Linked DNA regions of Homo sapiens: regions 1 and 2 are each linked to region 3. The links are contacts of gene promoters, found by promoter capture Hi-C in human tissues and cell types (Jung and others, 2019). All regions are on one chromosome and are shown on one strand. The core of a region is centred on a gene start or on the middle of the fragment in contact, and the rest is flanking DNA. Distances in the headings are between cores, read along the strand shown. Region 1 holds the start of SLC35E1 (solute carrier family 35 member E1). Region 2 has its middle 12 kb from the start of KCNN1. Region 3 holds the start of ANO8 (anoctamin 8).

Evidence for each region. The method cuts DNA at HindIII sites, captures the fragments that hold promoters and counts their contacts. A contact is called where the count stands out against the background at its distance.
Region 1: the fragment with the promoter of SLC35E1 here is called in contact with the fragment with the promoter of ANO8 in region 3 in 1 of the 25 tissues and cell types used here (dorsolateral prefrontal cortex).
Region 2: a contact is called between a fragment that was not itself captured here and the fragment with the promoter of ANO8 in region 3, in 1 of the 25 tissues and cell types used here (dorsolateral prefrontal cortex).

The regions. Positions count from the first base shown.
Region 1 is chr19:16,571,155-16,574,719 of GRCh38, forward strand. It overlaps SLC35E1 (solute carrier family 35 member E1), which reads right to left and starts at 1,261. Exons shown (of 6, transcript NM_024881.5): 1 at 790-1,261; 2 at 358-428. The coding sequence starts at 1,210. LOC105372295 (a long non-coding RNA gene) reads left to right here and starts at 1,396. Exons shown (of 3, transcript XR_936360.3): 1 at 1,396-1,654. RefSeq lists silencers at 628-757, 918-1,027, 1,158-1,377 and enhancers at 1,296-2,170, 1,478-1,567. The HindIII fragment of the contact is 29,713 bases long and covers 1-2,660 here.
Region 2 is chr19:17,952,940-17,956,470 of GRCh38, forward strand. It overlaps a transcript of KCNN1 not described here. Among named protein-coding and RNA genes, the nearest start is that of KCNN1, 12 kb to the right of the region's middle. RefSeq lists an enhancer at 1-122. The HindIII fragment of the contact is 4,437 bases long and covers 1-3,531 here.
Region 3 is chr19:17,333,310-17,336,716 of GRCh38, forward strand. ANO8 (anoctamin 8) reads right to left here and starts at 1,546. Exons shown (of 18, transcript NM_020959.3): 1 at 1,256-1,546; 2 at 381-491; 3 at 113-245. The coding sequence starts at 1,361. It also overlaps a transcript of GTPBP3 not described here. RefSeq lists a silencer at 1,049-1,488 and an enhancer at 3,213-3,407. The HindIII fragment of the contact is 8,300 bases long and covers 1-3,407 here.

The DNA.
Region 1 (3,565 bases), core at 11-2,510, 760 kb before region 3:
GTCCCACTGGAAAGGCCACACATGGGGTGTATGGCCAAGATGTGACCAACCCATCACCTACCAGCAAACCCAGGTAGGGAATCAAAACGGGGAGGAAAATTGGATCTGAAAGGGACAACAGTGTTCCTAAGACCACACAGCAGAGATCACAGAGGGACACATACTCCACACACCACTGCTCACAGGGTGATTCTAGAACTTGAGTAGTAAAAGGCCACTGGAGACCTCTACACTGACTTCCCTATTTGACGGGAAGCCAGGCAGCCTGCAGACCAGGATCCTGACCACGTCACCAGTTGGCAACAGGGAGGAACCCCCTGGAGCTCCCATCTGCCCAGAGTCCCTGCCCGGGGTTACCTTGGTGCTCTGCTTCTCCTTCATAATGATCCGGGACAGGAGGACCACCCAGATGGGCATGGTGGCCTTGACTGCAAAGAGAGGGATGGGCACTCAGGGGGCTGCCTGAATTTCAGGGCCCAACCTGTTCCACCTCCACGGCGGGATGGGAGGGCCTGGCAGCCCCTCACACCTCTTCGCCCCTTCTCTTTCGGTAGGGCTTCCTCCTGCCACGGCTGTTGTGGTCTGTCCTGCTTACCTCTCAGCTCTCTTCTCAGCTCCTCTTCTCCCTGAGAACCCCGTGCGTGTCCCTCCCCTACCAAACCCTTGGCAGCCCCTCTGCTGACTTCTCAGTCCGGCGGGACGCGCCCCGGGCGGCGCACTCCTATCCATGCGCCCAAACCCGAAGCGGCGGGCCCGGCCGCCGCCCCCGAGGCCGGGCGCGGAACCTACCGGTGTGTGCATAGGACACGGGCACCTTCCAGATGCTGACGTGCGCTGACACGGACGCGAAGTACTTGCCGAAGGCGAGCGGTAGCACGTAGCGCGGGTAGAAGCGCGGCGGCAGCAGCGGGCCGGACGACGGATGCGGACTGGGTCCGGGGCCCGAGACGGGCGGCGCGGGGGGCACGCGCCAGGCGCGCAGCAGCGGCGGGAGCCCAGCGCACAGAGCCAGGATGTGGCACAGCGACACGGTCACCGGGAACGGGAAGGCGCTCAGGATCACCTTGTTGACCACGTTGCCGCCCGCGCTCAGCGCGTACCACAGCAGGCACAGCGCCGCCACCCGCGCGCCCTCGCGCGCCCCACCACTGCTGCTCGCTGCGCCCGGGCCCCCCGCGCCGTGGCCCGCGCCCACCGCGGCCGCCGCCATCCTGCCCGAGCGGCCGCCCCTTCCAGCCCGTCCGACGGCCCGACGCCGGGCGGGGGCGGGGCTGGGCGGGGGGGCAGGCGCCCCGGTCTACGCCGTTTCCCATTGGTCGCTGCCTCCTCGCGTCATCCCTCCGCGCCGGCCGACGCGCCAGCCACCACGTCTCGAGTGCAGGCCCAGTCCACTGTAGATGCGCTTCCGGCGGAGCCGAGGCCGGAAGCGGAAGAAGGGGACACAGACCTGCGTCCAAGCTGTGCCACCTGAGACGTGGGCGGTCCCAGTGACCGGGAGCCGGAGCTCGAACGGGACGGGCGAACAGAAGCGCGGAGGGCTTCGCAGCGTCGGCGTCTGTGCGTGGGCCAAACATCAGGGCCTCGACCAGGGATACAAGGGCAACCGCTAACTAGATTCCTGATTCCTGATGGCTGGCGGCGGCTGACACCAAAGGTAAAAGGCCTTTTAGGGAAAGAAACCATTTGTGAAAAGCTCTTGGGCTAAACTCGCTCTGCAAACTGGGGGCGCACGCTCGTGGCCAAACTCTGGCAGTGGGACTATCCCGGAGCACCCGATCCCTGGAATCATGTTCTGGAAACCACCGCGACGTGCGCAGTTCTCGGGCGTGGCCCTGGTATCATCCCACTGAATCCTAGGAACGCGGTGCGGTAGGTATCACTGTCCGCATTTCACAGACCGAAGTCCAGAATGGGGAAGCGACTTGTCTTAGGCTTCCTGGCCACACTGGGGACCGTGGTCATGGTAGCGTCCTTGGACACCTGTCTCCAAGGCTCTGCAGAAGGGGGAGGTGCCGGGCCCTGACGGCTGATGTCCAAGGACCAGCCGGGATGGACCAGCCCCAGGAGGCCCCAGTGGAGGAAAACAGGACGAGGTTTTCAGTAAGATGATCTTATACTAATTCAAGGGCTATAATTTGTTCTCCACATCGTGTGCCTCCAACTTTTTCGGGGAAAGGGTGTTAAAATTCCGTTACAGTGTTTTTACTTGTCAAATTAGAAGCAGCAACCGGCTGGGTGCAGTGAGTCAAGCTTGGAATCCCAGCACTTTGGGAGGCCAAGGTGGGCGGATTGCTTGAGCTCAGGAGTTGGAGATCGTGGCATCGATAACATGGCAGAACCTCATCTTTGCAAAAAATACAAAAATTAGCCAGGCGTGGTGGCGCACGCCTGTGGTACCCACTACTAGGGAGACTGAGGTGGGTGGATCGGCTTGAGCCCAGGTCAAGGTTCCAGTGAGCTATGATGGCGCCACTGCACTGCAGCCTGGGTGACAGAGCGAGACCCAGTCTCAAAGAAAAGTAGAAAGCAGCAACCCAACTTGGCTCCCCAAATGTTGGAAGGTATCTTAGCTTATCCTTGCATTCTCAAAGGCCCTAGGCCCTTCTGGATACATGGACACAGGCATGGTAGTCCCTGCAGGCAGGGGTAGTGGGGAGCTGCAACCTATCCCAAAACTCTAGAGATGCTGATAGGAGGCCAAGCTCTGCACCCTAATATCCTCCAGCTGTACCCTCTGTGGATCAGAGTAAAGTCACATCCTTGGGACACCATGTCTCAGCAGAGCTGTTAAACATAGGCACAGTGAAATTAGGAAAGTATAACTATAGGCACCCTACAGCACAGCTGAGTGTCAGATACTTCCACTGACACACTGACATGCTTTGTGTTTTAGTTCTCACAACTCTGGGGTATTCTCACCCCCCAAATGGGGACATGTGCACAGGAGTGAAGAGATGAGCTCAGAGCCACACAGCTGGTGGGTGGTAGGCCTGGGTTCAACCTCATCCTGCCTTCAAAGCCACTTTGCCCATGGCCTTTTGTTGGGGAGGGGAGTGTGTTCTGCACCAAGCTTTTGCCAGGAATCCCTGCTAGCTCTCAAACTGGCTCTGGACTGACTGTAGTCTTACAGGCTGGAAGGAACCTTTGGTTTGCCCTGTGAGACTGCATGTCTTAAGGTGTAGCTGTTTCTTCATTTGTGAAATTAAGCAGATATGGGTAAGATGACCTATTCCAAAGTGAAAAACTGGAAAACCAAAGTCTTAGCCTACAGTTTCAGGGACGAGGGGGAACTAAAAGATGAGCACTTTATAGTCAAGGGAGAAAAATTTTTTTGGAGTCAGCACCAACCAGCTAATAAGGCAGCTGGGGGCCAGGGCCATGGGGTGGCCTTTCAGACACACACACACAGCTCTGAGCCTCTGGGCCATACCTTGTAAGAACTAGGTATTTTGTTGAGGTGGGGGTAGTCACTGAGACCTGTGCTATGGGAGCCTCCTACAGAGGGCTGCTCTCTAGGCCAGGTAAAGTCTGGGTGAGACAAGAAAACATTCCTTAATGTGGCCCT
Region 2 (3,531 bases), core at 869-3,368, 620 kb after region 3:
CTGGTCAGATCCACGAATCCCGGGACCCAGCTGGGGAGGTCAGCTTTGGGATCCTCTGCCCCCGCCGCCGTTTAACCCTGAGCGTGGGTTGCCAGGGCCCCAGAACTGGGGGGATTCCTTACTTTCTCCAAGTTTCTCCTCTGGCTAGAGACCCAGACAGGACTGAGCCAAGAAGCCCCGGCCTCGCTCTCTTCCGGGGCTCCCAGATCTCACCTCCTCTTGTCCCCCGTGTGCCCCCGCTCCCAGCCTCCTCAGGCTGCCCAAGACCTCATCAAAGGAAATCCCTGGGGGGAGGGGGCTTATAGATGGGGAAGTCAAAGCTTCTGGAGCCACGGAGGAGATAATTTTTACTCCGACGCAGCAACCCGCTGAGTGACCTTGGACAAGGCCCTGCCCTCCCAAGGCTAGGGTCAGCACCAAGTCCCCCTGGCTGGAACAGGTGGCCCCTGAGCCATCCAAGGTGACCATTGCCCCGATCCCAGGTCCTGGTGAGAGAAAGGGCAGCTGGGGGTTTCCCCTTCAGTCCTGTTCTGGGGTCTGGCATTGCCCCTGCCCTCCATGGGGTGTCCTTTTCTGCCCTCTTCTCCAGGATCGGACTTGGGTACCATGTGCTTCTATAAGCCCTCTGCAGACAGCACTAAATAGATGGAGGGAGCACGCCAAGGGAGCTACAGGCTCCCAGGGCAGCTTCAGAGCTGGGGAGCAAGAGTTCAGCTGCTCTGCCAAGCGAGGTGGTTCACAACTGTAATCCCAACACTTTGGAAGGGCGAGGCAAGCTCAGGAGTTCGAGACCAGCCTGGGCAACGTACTGAAACCCTGTCTCTACAAAAAATTAAAAAAATTAGCCAGGTGTAGTGGTGCACACTTGTAGTCCAAGCTACTTGGGGGCCGAAGGTGGGAGGATCGCTTGAGCCCGGGAAGTCAAGGCTGCAGTGAGCCATGTTCATGCGACTGCACTCCAGCCTGGGTGACAAAATGTCACCTCCCTGAATGTCACCCACCTAGATCTCCCCATGGCGAAGGAACTAGGGGCAATGTGAGGGGGTGAGCAGGAACAGCATTGGGAAAGACAGATAAAGCATTCAGTGTCTAGCTTCTGGAGCCCAGTGAAAGGAGGAGTGGCCTTAGGGAGGGGACATGGAAGAGGTGGGGCTAGCCCAGGGCCCCATTGGAGTGATAAAGCCACTGTTCTTAAGCTTCCTGAAAGCTTAGGAGATGACCCAGCTCAGCAACACCAAGCCAGAGCGCAGATCTGCTGTAAAGACCATTGTACGTAATAGGCTGAAGCAGGTGAATCACCTCTGGCCAGGAGTTCAAGTCCAGCCTGGCCAACACAGCAAAACCCCATCTCTACTAAAAATACAAAAAGTAGCCGGGCATGGTGGCAGGCACCTGTAATCCCAGATGCTTGGGAGGCTGAGGCAGGAGAATTGTTTGAACCCTGGAGGCGGCAGTTGCAGTGAGCTGAGATCACATCACTACACTCCAGCCTGGGTGACAGAGCAAGACTCTGTCTCAAAAAAATAAAAAATAAGAAAGACCACTGTAGTCCGGGAGCTGTCTGCACCCTACTCTTTTGGGTCCCCGCCTCCACCCCGCACCCCCTGTCTGATCATTACAGATCTCAAAGGGACAGGAAAGGCAGCAGCAGCCACCCTCTCTCCCAGTCAAGTGGTCACCAGCAGGACTGAAGGGGACAGCCCCTTTGCAGTGGCTCGGCGAGGAGACCCCTGCACCCTAGGGTGAGTGAATCCCAGACTTGGGTCGCCTTTGGGGGTGGGGGTGGCTCAGGGGTTGGATAGAAAAATTGGTAACTGGGCAGGCTAGGTGGCTCACGCCTGTAATCCCAGCACTTTGGGAGGCTGAGGCAGGTGGATCACTTGAGGTCAGGAGTTTGAGGCCAGTTTGGCCGACATGGCGAAACCCCGTGTCTACTAAAAATACAAAAATTGCCCGGGGATGGTGGTGGGCACCTGCAATCCTAGCTACTTGGGAGGCTGAGGCAGGAGGACCACTTGAATCCGGGAGGCAGAGGTTGCAGTGAGCCAAGATCGCGCCACTGCACTCCAGCCTGGGCGACAGAGCAAAGCTCTGTTTCAAAAAAAAAAAAAAAAAGGTGACCTGAGGAAAAAGTGCCAGCTTTTGAAATAATAACAAGCTGGGTACAGTGGCGTGCACCTGTGGTCCTAGCTACTCGGAAGGCTAAGGTGGGAGTATCGAGTCCAGGAGTTCGAGGCTGCAGTGAGCTATGATCACGCTTGTGAATGGCCACTGCACTCCAGCCTAGGCGACAGAGCGAGACCCCCATCTCTTTAATTAAAAAAAAAAAAAAGAAAAAAGGCCAGACGTGGTGGCTTACGCTTGTAATCCCAGCACTTTGGGAGGCCAAGGCAGGCAGATCACCTGAGGTCAGGAGTTCGAGACCAGCCTGGCCAACAGGGTGAAACCCCCATCTCTACTAAAAATACAAAATTAGCCAGGCATGGTGCTGCATGCCTGTAATCCCAGCTACTTGGGAGGCTAAGGCAGGAGAATCACTTGAACCCAGGAGGCGGAAGTTGCAGTGAGCCGAGATTGTGCCATTGCACTCCAGCCTGGGCAACAAGAGTGAAACTCCATCTCCAAAAAAAAAAAAAAAAAGAAAGAAAGAAAAAAAATAATAATATAATTATTATTATATCATATATATCATGATGATGATAGCAAGGACTATGCTTTCTAGAGCCTCCGGGGAGTTACTGTCCACTTTCTTTGATCACTGGAGTTGGGGAAACTATTCAGAGAGGCCAGATGACCTAGAAGTGGGGTGTTGAGCCAGGTTGGAAGAGCTCTGTCCCACCACTCCCGCCCCCGCCCCCCACACACAGCCTCTACTTCCCGGCTCTCGTGGTCTCGCTGGAGACAGCCCCCAGGGTAGGCCAGCTCTGTGGAAGGCAGCTCCTGTGCTCCTTTCTCCAGTGAACTTTTTTTTTTTAGTTTTGTTTTGTTTTGTTTTGTTTGTTTGTTTTGAGACAGAGTCTGACTCTGTCGCCCAGGCTGGAGCGCAGTGGCATGATCTTGGCTCACTGCAACCTCCACCCTCCACCCCACCGGGTTCAAGCGATTCTCCTGCTTCAGCCTCCCAAGTAGCTGGGATTACAGGCATGCGTCACCACGCACAGCTAATTTTTGTGTTTTCAGTAGAGATGGGGTTTCCCCATGTTGGCCGGGCTGGTCTCGAACTCCTGACCTCAGGTGATCCACCTGTCTTGGCCTCCCAAAGTGCTGGGATTGCAGGCGTGAGCCACTGAGCCAGGCCTCCTTGGTGAACACTGACTGACATCCAGGGTCAGCACTAAGCTGCCCATGGGGGTGTGGAGAAAACAGAGGTGGTGGTCATTTAGTCAATCAACAAACACTGAGCAAGCTAGCTACTGTCTGCCAGGCCCTAGGCTGGATGCTGGGATGCAATAAGGACAAAGGCCAGCCCAGGTCAGCCCTTGTGGAATTTCATGGGGCATCAATTAAGCTTAAGTGTTTTGTGCTGGATAC
Region 3 (3,407 bases), core at 296-2,795:
CACCTGGCAGCCTTTGGGACAAACGCAGGGCGGCTGGATAGCATGGTTGGCACTTGGTAGAGCGGGGAGTCGGGTGGCAGGCTCAGCGAGAGGCCAGGGACAGGGGACTCGCCTCTCATACGTGGCGGTGACAAAGAAGGCGTAGGCACGCGTGTGGCGGTGGTGGCGGACTTGCACGATGAGCTCGGGAATGCCCACGCGGATGTGGTTCAGCAGCCATAGCAGCGTGTGGTCATCGGTCGTGTCTGCCAAGGGGCACAGGGACCGATGGCTCCTGCCACGAGGGGGCCCAAGGCCTCCTACGTATTCCCGTTCTGGGAAGCCGAGCTCAGGAGAGCCGCATCTGGGCACTGGGCGGGCGGGCGGGCGGGCTTGGGTACCTGGGAAGGTCATCAGCACGTCGCAGTTCTCTGTAGGCACCGTCTTCATCCACGCCTTGTGGGACACCAGGTAGCGACCAGCCTGCAGGAGCCGCTTTCCGAAAAGCTTATCTAGGGGGCGGCGTAGCAGGCCCGGGTCAGGCCACTCTGGGATCCGGACCCGGCCTCCAGTCTTGGCTCCTCCTGCCCCCGCCAGGGCTCCTCACCACTCCACCTGGCATTCAAGGCCCCGGGAGCTCTGGGCTTGGCTTATTTTCCTCCCTCCACGTCCTTGTACCAGCCAGGCCTTCCTCCAGAAATGCCCTTCCCCCCAGATCCTCCCTTACAAATCTTACTCATTCTTGAGGCCCAGCTCCGCCTCCAAAACCACAATCGATGGGGCGCTCACTAGCAGCCCTGAGCGCTTCACCACATTATGACAGCGCCGTCCTTGCAGCAGCCCCAGGGACTAGGTGCGGTTCTTACCCCCATTTCACAGGTGAGGAAACTGAGGCCCAGAGCGTTTAAGTCACGCGCCCAAGGTCACACAGTCAAGCTGGGATTTGAACCCAGGACCGTATGATTCTGTATTCTTCGCGGAGAGGCTCTCTCAAGCACATCCCTGGCCCGCCGCGATCCCGCAGCCCGGGGGTGGCAGGGCGCAGCCCAAGCCTGGGGCTCTCGGAGGGGCGTGTCCGCGTCTCCGCGCCGGGACCCCAGCCCGAAGCACCGTCCCAGCCCCGCCCGCCGGGCCGCAGCCGCAGTGCCGGGAGGAGCCGGCCCCTCGTCCAGACACCACGCCAGGTTACGTTTGACCCTGATCCTCCTCCCCGTGTAGTTGACGCGGGCTCCCCAGGCACCTGCAACCCTGTCTGGTCCAGCCGCCGCACACATACCCAGAACTCCGGACGCCGGGGCTGCAGGCTCGCCCTCCGGCGGGGGCCTCTTGCCACGCTCGCCCTCCAGGGACGTGCCCCCGGCGCCGGAGGCGGCCTCGGCCATGGCGAGGACAGGTCAGGTCAGGGGCTACGGACGGCCCGGGCGACGGGGAGCCGCGGGCTCATGGGGCCGGTGCAGCCGCGGAGCGCGCGGGAGGAGGAGACAAAGGCCGCGCCCGCCCGCGCCGGCCTCGGTCCTCGCTCGCCCGAGCGCTGCTTCTCGTCCCCGCCCGAGCCGAACCTCGATTCTCCTTCCCGGCCCGATGCACGTCACTCTAGGGTTCTCAGCTGAGTTCGCCCGCCTAGTTCTTTGGTTCGCGTCTCCGCCCGTGTTGTTTTCTGGGTTTCCTTCTCGCCCGCCTACCTCGCTCCCTGCTGCTGGTCCCCGCCCGCACTGATGGTGCATTCTCCAACTTGTCCCCACCCATGCTTTCTTCTGGTCCCCGCCTCGGAGCCTCAGTTTCCCCATCTGCAAACTCCGGACCCTGGAGACGCTGTTTGGAATGTGAGATGGGCGTAAGTTGACTAAGGGAGGACGTGGGAGGGGCGGGCCGGTTGGGGAAGATTCCTGGTGACAATAACTTCAACCACCCCAGTAGGGCTGTGATACATAATTACAGCAAGCCCTGCTTAGGAACTTTGCACGCACCATTTGGCTGCCTAGAACACTCCTCATGCACTCTTCGTCCGGTTAACACCGACTCCCTTCAGGATGTAACCTCGGAGAGGATCCCATAGAGTTGTCAAGTTTAGCAAATAAAAATACAGTCCGTCTAGTTAAATGTAAATTTCAGATAAAAGAATAAATGTTAGCTGGGCGGGGCGCACCTGTAATCCCAGCTACTTGGGAGGCTGAGGCAGGAGAATCGCTTGTGCTCAGGAGGTCAAGGCTGCAGTGAGCTGAGATCACACCCACTGCACTGCATCCTGGGCGACAGAACGAGACCCTGTCTCAAATACATATATATACATACATACATAAATGTTTCTATGTCCTATGTCTACATGGGACATACTAGTACTAAAAAATTATTCATTGTTTATTTGAAATTCACATTTAGCTGGGCGACCTGGGTTTTACCTGGCATTTGGCCAACCCCTGACTATTCTGAGTAGCTCAGTCTGTTAGACTGAAAGCCCAGCGAGGGTAGGAACGAGGGGCCAGGTCTGGTTCTCAATGCGAGCACACAGTAGGCGCTTGCTGTACGCTTGTTACAGATGTAACAACTAGCTTGTTACAGATGTAATAACTAGCTTGTTACAGATGTAACAACTAGAGAATGGCAGATGAAATATAAATATGTCATCATTTGTTCCTATTTTACAACTTAAAATATTAAAGCCTCGGCCGGGCGCAGTGGCTCACGCCTGTAATCCCAGCATTTTGGGAGGCCAAGGCGGGTAGATCACCTGAGGCAAGGAGTTCGAGACCAGCCTGACCAACATGGCCAAACCCTGTCTCTATTAAAAATACAAAAAATTAGCCAGGCATGGTGGCGCACGCCTGTAGTCCCAGCTACTTGGGAGTCTGAGGCAGGAGAATCGCTTGAACCTGGGAGGCGGAGGTTGCAGTGAGTCTAGATCGCGCCACTGAACTCCAGCCTGGGCGACAGAGCGAGACCCCGTCTCAAAAAAAAAAAAAAAAAAAAAAAAAAGCTTGGGCAACGTAGTGAGATCCCCGTCTCCACCAAAAAAACGAAAACAAAACAAACAAACAAAAACAACAAACAAAAAGAAACACCGAAAAGTTAGACTGGCATGGTGGCTCGCGCCTGTGGTTCCAGCTACTCAGGAGGCTGAGGCGGGCGGATCCCTTGAGCCCAAAAGTTGGAGGTTGCAAGAGCCGTGATCGCGCCACTGCACTCCAGCCTGGGCGACAGAGTGAGACCCTGTCTCAAAAATAAAATAAAATAAAATAATAAAGTAAATAAAAATATTGAGCAGGGCGAGGTAAGGGGGTATTAGAACTCTATTCTGTCAGACAGATTTTTCTTAACACGCAAGTGCGCCGCCCGCCCGCTCTGATCCAGAACCAGAGAATCCGCCATGCGAAGGCGCTCCCGGAGACCCCGCCCAGCCAGTGCCTGGAATTCCACCATCAGCGCTTTAT